2 separate regions of the Homo sapiens genome follow, and region 2 is linked to region 1. Evidence: promoter capture Hi-C in human tissues and cell types (Jung and others, 2019). All regions are on one chromosome and are shown on one strand. Each heading gives the region's core, a stretch centred on a gene start or on the middle of the fragment in contact. The rest is flanking DNA. Distances are from core to core; before and after follow the strand shown.

What was found. Contacts are between HindIII fragments. The study calls those that stand out against the background at their distance.
Region 2: the fragment with the promoter of SPTBN2 here is called in contact with the fragment with the promoter of RBM4B in region 1 in 5 of the 25 tissues and cell types used here (IMR-90 fibroblasts, aorta, mesenchymal stem cells and 2 more).

The regions. Positions count from the first base shown.
Region 1 is chr11:66,674,058-66,682,022 of GRCh38, forward strand. It overlaps RBM4B (RNA binding motif protein 4B), which reads right to left and starts at 3,830. Exons shown (of 4, transcript NM_031492.4): 1 at 3,707-3,830; 2 at 2,611-3,034. The coding sequence starts at 3,022. RefSeq lists silencers at 3,443-3,552, 3,753-4,032. The HindIII fragment of the contact is 6,531 bases long and covers 1,938-7,965 here.
Region 2 is chr11:66,725,677-66,733,641 of GRCh38, forward strand. It overlaps SPTBN2 (spectrin beta, non-erythrocytic 2), which reads right to left and starts at 3,540. Exons shown (of 38, transcript NM_006946.4): 1 at 3,065-3,540. The HindIII fragment of the contact is 42,487 bases long and covers 1-7,965 here.

The DNA of each region.
Region 1 (7,965 bases), core at 2,580-5,079:
TTTTAAAAATCTTATGGATCCACTGCATTATTCAGATACATCCTAAAGTAATTATACCTGCCTTATTAAAACACATATTCATCCTAAGCCAACTCCCCCCAATTAACTGATTTTTTTTTCTTTTTTTTTTTTTTTTATTAACTTCAGGTAGCTTTTCTTTTTCTTTTCTTTCTTTTTTTTTTTTGAGATGGAGTCTTGCTCTGTCCCCCAGGCTGGAGTACAGTGGCATGATCTCGGCTCACTGCAAGCTCTGCCTCCTGGGTTCACGCTATTCTCCTGCCTCAGCTTCCCGAGTAGTGGGGACTACAAGGCGCCTGCCACCATGGCCGGCTAATTTTTTTTTTGTATTTTTAGTAGAGACGGGGTTTCACCATGTTGAGCAGGATGGACTCAATCTCTGACCTCGTGATCCCCCCGCCTTGGCCTCCCAAAGTGCTGGGATTACAGGCGTGAGCCACAGCACCCGGCCTGTCCTTTTCCTTTTATTCAGTTGTATTAAATATATATATGGTTTTTTTTTTTTCTTTTTTGAGAAGGAGTCTCGCTGTTGCCCAGACTGGAATACAGTGGCACAATCTCGGTTTACTGCAACCTCTACCTCCCAGGTTCAAGCGATTCTCCTGTCTCAGCCTCCCGAGTAGCTGGGATTACAGGCACACACTACCACGCCTTGCTAGTTTTCTTGTATTTTTAGTAGAGATGGGATTTCACCATGTTGGCCAGGCTGGTCTCGAACTCCTGACCTCAGGTGATCCACCCGCCTTGGCCTCCCAAAGTGGTGGGATTACAGGTGTGAGGCACCGCACCCTGCCTGTATTAAATATATTTAAAAGGTAAGGGCATTCTGTATGACATTACTAGAATACCTCTGCAGTTTGTACCCAACTTTACATTCTTTTACATTTTGCTCATTACCTGTCAGGAGAAAACCCTCCTTCCCCAGTCTCCACTGTCCATCATGATGATTTCCCCCATCAAATGAAAATAATTAAGATACTTTTAAAAGCTGAAAATGCAACAACATTCCAAAATAAGAAAAAGAAAAACAAATGTAAGAAAAGCAAACCAATAAGGAAAGCTTCGCTATCACACTTTCAATAATTTTCTAACCAGAATAGAAACACTCATGGTTGCAAAGAGCAATCACCTGTCATCATAAAGAGCTTTTACTATCAAAACACTTTCACATCGATTTCTTCATTCTAGCCCCACTACAATCCTGTGAGGGAGGTACAGTAGGGATCATTAACTCCATAAGTGGGGACAATCTTAGTGAGGAAAATGAAGCAGAGAAATGTTAAAACACTTGTCCAAGGTCACACACTAGTTAATGGTAGGAAGTATCTGCAACCTTTGCCCTATGCTTTAAAGAGCAGCTAAAGGCCAAGGCATCACTGGCTGAAGCTGGAGATACTTGATGGTGCTCCTCTACCCATCTCCACTATGCAAACTTTCTTACCCTTCTCTGGTCAACTTTTCCTCTTCTCCCATTATTTTTCTCATTTTGTTTTTTAGTTTTAATAGAAGACCCAAAAGTACTTCTTAACAACCCCTTTAATGACACTCAGGGCAAAAAAGGTGTTGACTTAGGAACCACAAAAGTGGCTATGAACATGAGGTCCAAGACGATACTGTTAACAAAACACTTGTAGAACAGTGCTATCCAAAAGAATGTTCTATGATGATGGAAATGTTCTGTGTCTCTATTAATACGGTAGCCACAGGCCTCATGACTACTGAGTGCTTGAAACGTGTCTGGTATACACTTGAAAAACTGAATTTTAAATTTTATCTAATCTGTTAATTTCAATTTACTAAGCCGCATGTGGTTACCATATTAGCACAGTTCTAGAGTCTTCTGACAACCTCTTGTGGTATTAATGACAACATATGTACCTTTATTATCGGTATAAATAGTATGATATGCTCTACGATGCTTGTACTGAAATTTCTTCAGAAGCGGGACCATCATTCCCATTGAGTCTGATATATTTAGAAATTTCCTTTTCTGAGGGTGAAATGAACAGGTGGAGCAGAACACTCCATGGCATGTTTTTTTGACTCTGCTTGAAGAGACTGCACAACTTTGATCAACAAAAAGATACTCCCGCAGATCCAGACTTGCCACCCAGATTTATAATATAGGGCTTCCTCTAGATGTCTTTTTTCTTCTTTCCCACCAGTATCCACCCAAAGCAGTAAAGAATATAAATCTTAAGCACTTAAACCCTCAAATATAAGGCTTCCTGATCATCACCAAAGAAGCAGGTAAGCCACGGACCTTTATCCTCCCTTCTCTCATGAGGTACTCGTTTCCCCAAGCAGATTACACTTCCAACAGCACTCGAATCAATGCAAGAATCCCGCAGGGTAAAGTAACCCACAGTTTGTGATTCTATGCAGTCGGTGAGCAACATCTTAGCAAACCTGAAAAGGGGAAGTGTTTGCTTCCCCAGGGGTAAATTATGCTTAAGAGCGGTAAACATAATCTATTATTTCCAGCTAAAACAGAATGGAAGAGACCACCCAGCAAGTTCTATAGTCTTGTGTTCTTGCCTGTTTTGAGCTAGACCCCACTCGGCGCTACTACCCAGGCCCAGAGCAGTTCACCTTGAAACTCTGTGTTGTCAAGGCCCCTGATGGCCTCCACTGCATCCTCTGCCCGCTCCATGTGTACGAAGGCATAATCTTTCACGATGTCACATTCGATGACCGGACCATACTCCTCAAACTTGGCTCGAAGCTCTTGGTTGGTACAAGTGGGGCTGATGTTACCCACGTGTAACTTGGTTGAAGCTTTGCTCTTATTCTTGCTGGCTTCCACGTTGATGTTCACCCCATGAAGCTTGTAATGGTGCAGGTTGCGTATGGCATCCTCAGCTGCCGTCTTGTCTTCTATGTGCACAAAGCCGTAATTCTTAATGATGTCACATTCCAGCACCTTCCCATACTGCTCGAAGAGTGAGCGAATCTCCTGCTCTGTAGCCTCCCGGGGAAGGTTTCCGATGAACAGCTTCACCATCCTGACAAGAGCCTGGGAGAGAAACACAAGACTTCAAAAGTCAGGGGTGTGGTGGGAAATTTCGGTGCACTGCAGCATTTTCGTCTAATCCTCCAAAGTTCTTGCACCTTCAAGACCCTCGTACAGACATTCATTATTCTTCCTCAATAGAAGAAGGGCGGTTTGTTCTCGAGAAGTGCGAGCTATGCGTGACATGCAAACAGGAGGTCGAGGGTCAGCATGCATAGCCCAGTCTATCATCTCCGTGAAGTGGAGCGCAATGAAATACCAGAATTAGCTGCTTCATGTCTTAAAATGAGGGAAGAGAAAAGCCCAAGCAAAGGCAAGGGGCATCAATCGCAGTGCGCCTGGTAACAAGGTTTTGGAGGGAAATCTGTGTACCTCTCCTGCGCGCACTAGCGCCTTTCAAGATACTCTAAAAAGAAAAAAGTCCCCTTTCCCCCAAACCGGGGACCAACCACCTCGCCCCCAGCGGCCCACCCTCCAGCTTCTTCGCCCCAACAAAGACTCGACCCGACCCCTGCCCCGCCTCCTTCCGGAGACCCGGCCCCGCCTCCTCCCGTTGTCTTCCCAGACCTCCCGCTGCAAAATGAGAAACCCAAATCCGGGCCGTGCAGTCTGCCGGAGGCCCGGCCCGACCCGCCCCCGAGCTCCCCACATCACACACACACGACCCCCTCGCACCTCCGGGTGGCGGCAGCGACGGCGGCTCCCACGTCAGAGAGAACCTTACAAAATGGCGACGGCCGCTCGAGCCTGGACGCGACCGGGCCCTTTCTCGCGCGCCAGCTCACGCACGCGCGAGTGCGCGCTGCTTCCCTCCCCTTCCCCTCGCGGGAGCCGAGTGACCAATCCCGAGGCTGCATACAAATGACCACGCAGCACGGGGGCGGGGCCTGTTGGTGGTGGCGCGGCGCCGCGGAGGTCAGCCCACCCCCAGCCCCAGCCAGCCAGTCACCACCCTGGAAAGGGTCGCCACTGCTGCGTCAGAGGGGCTCTGAACGCAACCACTGCCTAGAAAAGCGGAGGCCTTGGGGAGTCGCTCACCACAATGGGTCCTGCTCTTGGGCCCTTTGAGGGGGGCGGGGAGCTAATGACAGAGGAATCTCCCCGAGGGCCCTAAAAAGGGGCTTTTGTAGCGGGCTGGCCGGCTTCTGTGGCAGCTTGGGGCAACATTTCAAAAATACAGGTGCGCCACATTTTAAGCAAAACTAGTCATTGTTTTGTAGCGCTTTAAACATTATTTTAAAGTTTGTCATTGCAGAGGTGTTATTTATTGCTACGGAAACTGAGAACCAAGGGGCAGAAAGATAACCTGGCAGAACTGGGACAGGCCTAAGAGGCATTGCTACCCAGGCTACGCTTAGTCATGTTTTGTTTGCTCGTGAGTATCCGTGGTCTGATTCTCTCTCACTCATTGTGTGTCCATCACAGTCCTGGTCTGTGGTGAGCACGCCAGAGGAATACTTGGTGGAGAGGCCCAGCGAGGTCCCTAGTTCTGGGTGGGACAGGGTCTCCTCGTACACACCAAGCTGGAAGTCTAGGCAACTGAGTTTCCCGACTGTCTAGCATTCAAAATTCAGCTGTGGTCCAAGGGCACCTCCTGGCGGTAAAAACAAGCTTAGGCGTGCCAGGTGCGGCGGCTCACGCCTATAATCCCAGCACTTTGGGAGGCCAAGGCGGGCGGATCACGAGTTCAGGAGTTCGACACCAGCTTGGCCAACATGGTGAAACCCCGTGTCTACTAAAAATACAAAAAATAGCCCGGCGTGGTGGCGGGCGCCTGTAATCCCAACTACTCGGGAGGCTGAGGCAGGAGAATCGTTGGAACCCGGGAGGCGGAGGTTGCAGTGAGCCGAGATGGCGTCACTGCACTCCAGCCTGGGTGACAGAGCAAGACTCGGTCTCAAAAAAAAAAAAAAAAGAAGTTTAGGCTGATTCCCCACTGTCACCTTCCAGCAAAGAGTAGCCTTTTATGGAGATTGATGGATTGGGTTTATCTCCTAGTAGAGCCCGCCAGGGAGGTTGTCAGCCACCATTCCTCATTTTAGTGGCTCCATAATGGCTTCTCTGATACCATCTGGGACACATTCCCCAGGCTGCCCTCTTCCACCCCAGCTACTTGGATATGTTCTTTACCTGAGTTCTTTTTGTTTCTCAGCCATTTCAGAAGAGGCACTGTCCTTCCAATTTTATTTTATTTTTATTTTTTGTTTAATTTTTTAAAGACAGAGTCTCACTGTGTCGCCCAGGCTGGAGGGCAGTGGTGCGATCTCGGCTTACTGCAACCTCCACCTCCTGCGTTCAAGCCATTTTCCTGCCTCAGCCTCCCGAGTAGCTGGGACTACAGGCGTGCGCTACCCCCCAGCTAATTTTTGTATTTTTAGTAGAGACAGGGTTTCACCGTGTTGGCCAGGCTGGTGTCGAACTCCCGACCTCAAGCGATCCGCTGGCCTTGGCATCCCAAAGTGTTGGGATTACAGGCGTGAGCCACCTCGCCCGGCCCTTAACTATTATTACTATTATTTTTGAGTCAGGGTGTCACTTTGTTGTCCAGGCTAGAGTGCAGTGGCACCATTATGGCTCACTGTAGCCTCGACCTCGCAGGCGCAAGTGATCTTCCTATCTTAGCCTCTGGAGCAGCTGGGACCACAGGTGTGGGCCACCCCATCCAGCTAATTTAAATTTTTTTTTTTTGTAGAGATGGGGGTCTCACTGTGTTGCCCAGGCTGGTCTCAAACTTCTGGGCTCAAGATGTTTCCACCACAGTCTCACAAAATGCTGGGATTCAGGTGTGAGCCACTGCACCCGGCTTATATGTGCTGCTAATTTAAAATAGCACTATCCTATGTTAATATTATCTAATGTTTATGCCCAAATTTCTCCTGGATTGTTACAAATGTCTTTTTACAGTTGATTTCTTCTAATCTGGACTTAAACATTGTACATTTGTATGCATTATGTAAATGGTGTGTTTTGAGTTGTATAGCTGTGTCTTACTATTTTTCCACTAAGGGCTATGTCGCCGCATGATGTCTAACTAGCGAGTAACGCAGTCCTCTGTGGTGTACAGTCACATATTGTACCTGTTCATCTCTGGGCATAGGGCACTCAGCTTCCAGCTCTCTGTCATTATAAACAAGGCTGCAGTGAACATGCTTAAGTATGTGCCCTAATTCTGTGTGAGAATTTGGGGGGATATAAAACCAGAGGTGGAATTGCTGGGTCATAGAGTATACGTAGAACTCACCTGTCTAAGTAGCACTGAATTCTCTGGAAAAGCTGCACCAGCATACTCTTCCACCTGTAGCATATGAGGGGCCTTGTATCTCTACATCCCTGCCAGTGATAGACATTATCCGCTTTTCTAATTTTTGTCAGTCTAATAGATATAAAGTGATATTTCATTGTTGCTTTAATTTGTATTTCTCTGGTTACTAATGATTTTAAGCATCCCTTCTTGTTGTCTTTTTTTTGTGTGTGATGGAGTCTCACTCTGTCGCTCAAGCTGGAGTGCAGTGGTACTATCTCGGCTCACTGCAGCCTCTGCCTCCTGGGTTCAAGCGATTCTTCTGCCTCAGCCTCCTGAGTAGCTGGGATTACAGGCGTGTGCCACCACCACGCCCGGCTAATTTTTGTATTTTTAGTAGAGACGAGGTTTCACCATATTGGTCAGGCTGGTCTTGAATTCCTGACCTTGTGATTCGCCCACCTCGGCCTCCCAAAGTGCTGGGATTACAGGTGTAAGCCACCACGCACAACCTTTTTTTTTTTTTATTAGACGGAGTCTTGCTCTGTCGCCCAAGCTGGAGTGCAGTGGTGCGATCTCAGCTCACTGCAACCTCCGCCTCCCAGGTTCAAGCAATTCTCCTGTCTCAGCCTCCTGAGTAGCTGGGACTACAGGCACGTGTCACCACACTTGGCTGATTTTTGTATTTTTAGTAGAGACGGGGTTTCACATTGGTCAGGCTGGTCTCGAACTCCTGACCTTAGGTGATCCACCCACCTTAGCCTCCCAAATTGCTGGGGTTAAAGGCGTGAGCCACTGTGCCCAGACTTGTTTTTTGAGAAAGGGTCTTGCTTTGTCATGCAGGCTGGAGTGCAGTGGCACGATCATAGCTTGCTGTAGCCTCTAGCTCCTGGGCTCAAATAATCCTCCTGCTTCAGGAGGCTGAAGCCCTCAGCCCTCAGCCTCCCAAGTAGCTAGGACTATATGCCCAGCTAATTTTTTTGTTTTTGGTAGAGACGAGTTCTCACTATGTTGCTAGTCAAACTCCTAGCCTCAAGTGATCCTCCCACTTCAGCCTCCCAAAACACTAGGATTACAGGTGTGAGGCAAATACACCTGGCCTCTTGAATTTTCGAGTTTATGCTTCTGTAAATTTCCTGTTCATATCTTTTGCCCATCTTTCTTTTCAGGTTGTAGGCTCCTTTTTTGTTGTTGATTTGTAAGGCTTTTTCATATATTCTAATCTCTTATTGGTCTCAAATACCATCTCTCATTCCACTAATTATTAACTCTGTCCATGGTGTCCTTCATTGAACAGAAATCCTTATTTCTTGTGCAATGAAATTAATTTTTATCTTAAAGCTGTGCTTTTGAATTTTTTTTTTTTTTTTGAGACAGCCTGTTGCCCAGGCTAGAGTGCAGTGGTGTGATCATGGCTCACTGCAGCCTCAACCCCCCAAGCTCAAGCAATCCTTCCATCTCAGCCTCCCAAGTAGGTGGGACTACAGGTGCATGCCACCATGCCTGGCTAATTTAAGAAATTTTTTTTGTAGAGATAGAGTTTCACTGTGTTGCCCAGGCTGGTCTTGAACTTCTGAGCTCCAGTGATCCTCCCATCTCGCCTCCCAAAGTGCTGGGATTACAGGTGAGCCACTGCACCTGGCCTGCTTTTGAACTTTTGTATAAGATGTTCTTTTGTAGCCTCCTTAGTCAC
Region 2 (7,965 bases), core at 2,290-4,789, 51 kb after region 1:
GGCCAGGCCCAAGTAGCTTACACTGTTAGTGCTAGAAGAATGCCAACCCCCGCCGGCTGCAGGCTTGGGGTCCTGCTGGAATGTACTCCAGGCGCTGCTGGAGGCAGACTAGGCTCACCGTGCCGATCCTCCAGGGCAGTTTTCCTCTCTTTCAGCTGACATGTTAAGCTAGAAATCCTATACCCTGGGCTACAGGCTGCCTTGTATCCTAATTCTTCCTCTCACCACATCCTGCTCCTGATGAATTATTTCCCTCCCTCAGAGTTGATCATTCCCTCCTCTGTGCTTCCAGGGCACTTCGGCATGCAGCTAGTATTGTACTTATCACATCGCATTACGGTTAGTTGTTTACGTGTCTCTCTGCCCGCTCCACATTTAACTCATTGAGGACAAGGGCTGTCTTACTCGTTTTGGTGTTTTTCCAGACTCAGTACAACAGATATTCAATAAAGAGATATTGAATGACTTGACTATAATTCATTTTTTTTGGCCATGGAATTAATGTCTTTCTTAGGACTAGAGAGAAGCTCAAGGAAAGAATGAACACGGGATTGGAGAAGACCTGCTCCTGGGCTGGAATACTTTCAGGGTTGAGCTCAACAGCTCAGGTCTGGGGATTCTCAAACTTCCATGAATCACAACAACCTGGAGGACTGTTAAATCACAGGTCACCCCCCCATCCCCCAGTTTACGATTCAGTACTTCTGGGGTGGTACCTGGGAATGTGCATTTCTAACCTGTTCCCGGGTGACACTGAAGCTAATGGTCTGGGGACCACACTTTGAGGGCCACCCTTGTCCAAAGATGAGAAGCAGCTGGAATTGGTTAGAGGAGCCATGAGTGTTGAGAAGACACAAAGTTTCAGGGGTGAGTGTGACCCAGGGTTAGCTTCTAGGTCTGCTCAGGCCCTACCCCACACTAAACTCAAATATCACTTCCCCTCAGGAGCTCAGGCGATGGGAGAGGAAGATGAAGATGGAGTAGGTACCACAGGTAATGAAAGAAACAGCACAGCGAACCGCAGATATGCGGGAGGAGAACGGCAGAGCTAGAGAAGTCACGGGAAGGCAGAGTTGAACAAATGACAGTGAGATGAATAATAGATTAGAAGAAATGGGGACTTTGGCAAAGTTCAAATCTTATTTGCTTCTAAGTATAAATGGGTGGACTGGCAGAGAGATAAAACGAAAAAGAAGTCACAAATCAGCTCAGGGCCTCCAGGAAGGCAAGAGAAAGATGGGCCCAGGGCAGAAGGAAGGAACAGCAAAACCCCGACCCACCTCTCAGACTGTGTTCCTGATCAATTCCCTCGGAGGAAGTTAGGAACTGGGCTGAAGAGGGGGACTGAAATTTTATTTTCTCTTCTAGAATCCTCCAGTTATGGCAGATTTATTCAAATATTCAGATTCTTCACTCCCTTGCTATCTCCCTTCCCCAACCCGGGGTCACATCAATTTCTCTAAGGGAAGAATGTAAACTCCATCCTATCTTCTCCTCGGCCAATCCTTTGCCTTTCTGAATAAGCCAAGAGGTTGCCCCACACCTCAAGCTAAGACACATATTTGGAACTCACTCTGCCCCTCTTCACCTTCAAGGAAAACTGGTTTGTTGCTACCTCTGCCCATACCTGAAACCCCCGGGCTCTCCAGCGTTGGAACTGTGGCTGCTCCGAGAGGGGGAGGGCAGACGACATGTAGCAGGTTAAGACCGGGGCAAACCTGCACCTCACACAAGCATGCAATGTCCTGGGGTCAATGGGGTAAAGTTCCAAGCGAGTGGAAGGTAAATCACGACTGTGGCACCGGAGCCGGAACACCCCCGCGAGCAGGCCTTGCTGGGTAGTTCCGTGCGGGGCGGACCGCACAGCCCTATCAGCTTCCTGGCCACAGAAACGCCGCACGCGGCCGCTTCCCCGCCGCCCGAAGCGTCTGCTTTCTCCCCGGGCCAGTTCCGGCCACCACAGCCAACCGCGTGCCCCTCTCCCACACACTGTGGGGGAACAGAAGGGAGCGCGTGGAGCCAGCTGCCAAAGAGGCGAGGAGGAGCCCACGCGGCTCCGGGGAGGAGGGAGCCCGGCTCCCGCAGTCCGCCGGGCAGAGGCGGCCGAGCGCGCCCCCAGCACCTGGCCCGGCGCCGGCCCGTCCGCCCCGCAGCCCCGGCGACGCGAGGGGCCGGCGCTGTCAGACCCGCTCCCAGCCTCGCCGCGAACGTGTCCGTCAGCCCTAACTGTTCCAGACTCTTCTCCCGGCTCCAGAGAGGCCCGAGTCCCCCCCCCTCGGCCTTGGCCCCCACCGCCCTCATCCCGGTACCTGTGTGGCTGGCACGGGACCCTCTCCGTCCCGTCCCCGCCTGCTCCCGCCCCGGCTCACCCCGGCCGCCGGGACCCGACCCCGACCCCGACCCCGACCCCGCCGACCGCACGCGGCCGGACAAAGCGCGCCGCCCCGCGGGCCGGGACAAAGCGGGCGGGGCGCCGGCACCTACCTCGGCGCGGAGCCGCGGCCGGGCGGGCGGGGGCGCGGCGGGCGGGGGCGCACCGGTAGTTGCCGCGCCTGCAGCCCGGCCGCGACGGGCGGTTGCAGGCAGCGGCCGGGCGCACGGCGGGCGGCGGGCGGGCGCTGTCACGGGGCGCAGGCGGCGCGGGGGGCGCGCGGGGCGGGCGGCGGCGGGGCGCGTGGCGGCGGCGCGCGGGCGCGAGCGGCGGGACTGCGGCGCCGCGGAAGGAGGACAATAGCCTCCCCCTGCCGCAGGCCGCCGGCTCCCGCGGGAGGCCCGGGACCATCTGGAGCCGGCGGCCCCGCGGGGCTCTGGGCGGGGCCCGAGTCGCCCCTTCCCCGCCCAGCGCCATGGCAACCGAGGCCCCTCTCGGTGCTCCCCGCCGCTCCCCGCCCGGGGTAGTTGACCTGCCTCGGGGCGAACGCGGCAGCAGCTCCGAGGCCGGCTGCCGACCCCCAGCCACCTTCCGTGCGGGGTCCCCCCAAAACCCCGCCTTCCCGTCCTCGCTGGTCCCTGGGTCCCCCACCACAGCTTACAGGTCTTGATCTCCCCGGTTCGGACACCTCACCTTTGTCCCTATTCTGCTTTTCCTCCAAAATCCGTATCCCCGAGACACGCGATCCTTCCTCTAATGACACTGCCGACGAGGTTTCCCGAGATCCAGCCTCCGTTCCCCTTTCCTCTCCGGGCACCTCCAGTCCGTCTCCGCTAAGCATTCCTCTCACCCGTCCCCTCGCTCTCGCGTCCTCCTTCAGGCAGCTGGGCCGGCTCTCCCTCCCAGAACATCTCCATGGCACAGTGAAGATTCGTCTTCTACAGATCAGATGCTCCAAACAGGCATCTCAGCGCTTCTCAGCTCCTCTCATTTATCAACCAGGAGAATTCCGGCCTAGTCACCGTCTTGAGGGGGGTGGGGGTGGGGGCAGACATTTCTAGGCCTGACACGGCTGGGTTTCTCCTTGGTTTGTTAGCGTCTGAGTGGTCTAAGGTCCAAGGTCCTTAACCAAGGTGAACTGCTGCCTGCTTAGGAGAGGAAGGAATTATGCCCAAATCATGACAAACTCACAGAGTGCCAGGTGGGTGCTAAAAGCGCATCATCTCATGTGACACTCCCACCCCCACTCCAGCTCTGAGAAGTAGGTGCTGTTCTTCCAGATTAGAGAACTCAGCTCAGAGATGAGCCAGTGGTAACAGGGTGAGCTTTGTACAGAGCCGTTAGGTTATGTACTGCCCCTGAAGATGAGGGCCCGTTTCTATCCAGGGAATGCCTGAAATGGTCAAGTAAGGGCACTCAAAGAATGGGCTTTGAGTGAATTATTGGATTTAAGGTTTTATAATAGATTTATGGGTAATTTAGGATTTTGCTCCTTTCTGAAAAGGTATGCATACTGAAACAAATATGTGCAATTGAAGTACTTTCCAGATATGGTTTTGACAACCCTAACTAGTGGTGTCATCTACCTCGCCTTGGTTTTCCTAGTCTATAAAATGGGTTGGGAGGAGGGTTGGGGAGTTCCATTGAAAGATTACTTTGAAGTTCTCTCCTAGCTCTGATATCTGTGCTTCTACCACGAAACTGGAACTGGCTCTCTGGTGTGTACCTCACAGTTAGCTGCATTTGAGGCTATTTATTATTATTATTATTTTGAGACGGAGTCGTGCTCTGTCACCCAGGCTGGAGTACAGTGGCTTGATCTCGGCTCACTGCAACCTCCTCTTCCCGGGTTCAAGCAATTTTCCTGCCTCAGCCTCCCGAGTAGCTGGGATTACAGGTGCATGCCACCATGCCCGACTAATTTTTGTATCTTTAGTAGAGTCAGAGTTTTGCCATGTTGGCCAGGCTGTTCTTGAACTCCTGACCTCAGGTGATCTGCCTGCCTCAGCCTCCCAAAGTGCTGGGATTACAGACGTGAGCTGCCGTGCCAGGCCTGAGGCTATTTATTATTTTTAATAGCCACTCTTTCAGGCAATGGCATTAAAGAAACAAGGGCATAAACTGCAACTCTTCCCAGAGGTAGGATTATGTGTTGGTTGGTTCGGGGGAAGGAGGCACCAACCTGTGCATGACGGTCATCAGGGACACTTGGTCAGGGACATTAAAGCTGATGGGATGAGAATCAGCTGCCCATGGCCAGGCGCAGTGGCTCACCCTTGTAATCCCAGCACTTTGGGAGGCCGAGGCAGGTGGATCGCGAGGTCAGGAGTTCAAGACCAGCCTGGCCAACATGGTGAAACCCCTTCTCTACTAAAAATACACAAATTAGCCAGGCGTGGTGGTGGGCATGAAATCCCAGCTACTCAGGAGGCTGAGGCAGGAGAATCGCTTGAACCCGGGAGGCAGAGGTTGCAGTGAGCTGAGATTGTGCCACTGCACTTCAGCCTGGGCAACAAGAACGAGACTCCATCTCCAAAAAAAAAAAAAAAAATTAGAGAATCAGCTGCCCTGCCAAAGGAACTGGAACCACCAAGCTGCTGCTGCTGTACTGGTTACGGGAACTAAGGGTCTCAATGACAGCCTATAATATCGTGACCCAATTAGAAGTCAAGGGTATTAAGTCTTATGATTAGCAAAATAATATCTTTTATAATTTCCTATTTTCAGCATTTCATAATCCTTCAAGAAGCCTTGTAAGATAAACATTCTCATTCTTATTCTATTGATGAACAGACTGATGTTCAGACACCTAAGTGAATGTACAAGTTCACAGAATTAGTTCATGGTAGAAACTCCAGGTCTTCTGAATCCTAATATGTTCTTTCCTCTCTGCTAGACAGGGAGTATAGCAGAATGGTTAAAAGCATTGATTTTGGAGTCAGACTCCTTGGGTTTAAAACATAGTTCTGCCACCCACTGACTATGTGACCTTGGGCAAGTTACCTCCCTAGGATTCAGTTTCCTTACATGTAAAATGGCACCATAATGTGGGGAACATCAAATGAATTATTGCAGGTAAATGAATTATATGCAGCACATAGTAAGCACTTAATCAGTATCAGCCGTTATGATTTTACCGTATTATTTCCCATACTGTTTCCCGATTTGGAGAGGAAGCACATTGAATAAAGAGAACACTGAGATCACCTATCTCAGCTCTGTGACTGGGTTGCTTTGGAAACTTGTTATTTTGCTCTGTAGTGAACCAGTACAGTCAATGATGAAGAAAATATCTGGTTCCTTCTTATTTGAGTTGCAAAAGCGAATGGAATGATATCCACCAAGTTTGTTGAGCTTCTCAGTGAATCCACATTTGCTGCTTACATTACCAAGATTCATGGAAAGGTTTTGGCTCTGCCCACCAAACATACATACATAGCCGAATTCTCAGTTCTTGTTTCAATACCAGGGAAGAGGTGTCCCTCTTTTCACCTAAGATGGATTCTTCTGGCTCCTATGCTAAGTCTCATCCCCTTCTGCAGCCTCACGGCCCTCACTGCTGTCTCTCAGCTGGTTCCTTCCCATCAGCATTTAAACATGCTCAAGCATTTGCCAGCTTAAAAAATAATCAAGAAGCCCCGACTTCCCTCCATGCATTCCCCTTGCTCTTTATGTTCACAGTCTTCCTGAGTCATTTGCACTCATTGGCTTCACTTCCTCGCCCCTGCTCAATCAAATATTTATGCAAAAACTATATGGCTAATTATATACCAGGCACTGTGCTGGGATCTGGGGATATAATGATGAGTAAAATGGATACTGTCTGTTTTCTCTTGGAAGAGCCTGTGGTGGGATTGACAGACATTAATAAAATAACCCATCAGATATATAACCACAAAGTATAATGAGTGTTATGAATGAAAAGTTCAGGATGTTAAGAGAGAACTGAACAGAGTCATAACCTCAGATCACCTGAGCTGAGATCTGAAATATGAGAAGCATTAACCAGACAGAGTGGGGAATAATAATAGCTGTTACTAACATTAACGTGGAACTGTATTTCTAATACTTTACACATAACATTTCATTTAATCCTTTATAACAACTCCAAGAGGTAAGTATTAACCCCATTTCACAGATGAGGAAATGGAGACATTGAGAGATTAAGTACCTTACTCAGGGTCATCAAACCAGGCAAGGGTAGAGCTGGGATTTTAACCCAATCTGACCCTTGAACCCATGTTCTTAGCCACAGAGCATATGGCTAACAGGCCTGATGTTGCAGGACACATGGTGTACATAGGAAATGGAGAAAAGAGGCCGGGTGCAGTGGCTCACGACTTTGTAATCCCAGCACTTTGGGAGGCCAAAGTAAGCGGATCACAAGGTCAGGAGATTGAGACCATCCTGGCTAACACAGTGAAACCCCTTTTCTACTAAAAATACAAAAAAATTAGCTGGGCGTGGTGGCATGCGCCTGTAATCCCAGCTACTCGGGAGGCTGAGGCAGGAGAATTGCTTGAACCCGGGAGGCAGAGGTTGCAGTGAGCTGAGATCATTCCACTACACTCCAGCCTGGGCAACAGAGCAAGACTCTGTCTCTCAAAAAAAAAAAAAAAAAAAAATGGAGAAAAGAGGCTGCGCGCGGTGGCTCACGCCTGTAATCCCAGCACTTTGGGAGGCTGAGGCAGGTGGATCACCTGAGGTCAGGAGTTCGAGACTAGCCTGGCCAACATGGTGAAACCTCATCTCTACTAAAAATACAAGAATTAGCCGGGCGTGGTGGCAAGTGCCTGTAATCCCAGCTACTCGGGAGGCTGAGGCAGGACAATCTCTTGAGCCCAGGAGACGGAGGCTACAGTGAGCTGAGATTGTGCCACTGCACTCCAGCCTGGGGGACAGAGTGAGACTCTTTTTCAAAAAACCAACCAACCAAAAAAAAAAAAAAAAACAATACAAAAGAAATGGAGAAAAGACCAGGGTGCAGGGAAAACAGAGGGGAAGAGGGAATGTGTAGAGAATTGCGACTGGGGAGATAGGCAAGGGCTAGATCATGCAGAGCTTTTTATGTCATTATTTAAAGAATTTTGATTTTCACCTTTAGAGCCCTGAGAGACTATTGAAAGGTTGAAATAAGGAAGTGATAGGATCAACTTTGTATTTTAAAAAGGTCACTGTAGCTGCTATGGGGGGAATAGGTTACTCCAGTTGCTATGGAGGGGTGCAAAGATGTGTGAGAAACCAGTTAGGAGGCTACCACTGTGGGTAGGGTGACAGAGAAGATGGTAGCTTGAACTCAGTTGCTGGCAGTGGAGATGGAGTGCACAGGTTGAAAGAATTAACCAGATGTGGTGATGGGATAGATACAGGGGTGGTGGTGAGGAAAAAGGGTTAGTCAAGGATGAGTTGTGCAACTGGAATAATGGAGCTACTATTTGCTGAGATGAGGAATACTCCAGGAAAACCAGGTTTGGGTGGAGAGATTGTTGGTTTTGGAACCTAGGTTTGAGGTATCTTTGAACCAATCAAGTGGAGATATTGAGTAGTCAATTGTATATGGGCGTGGACTTTAAAGGGGAGGTCTGGACTTAAGA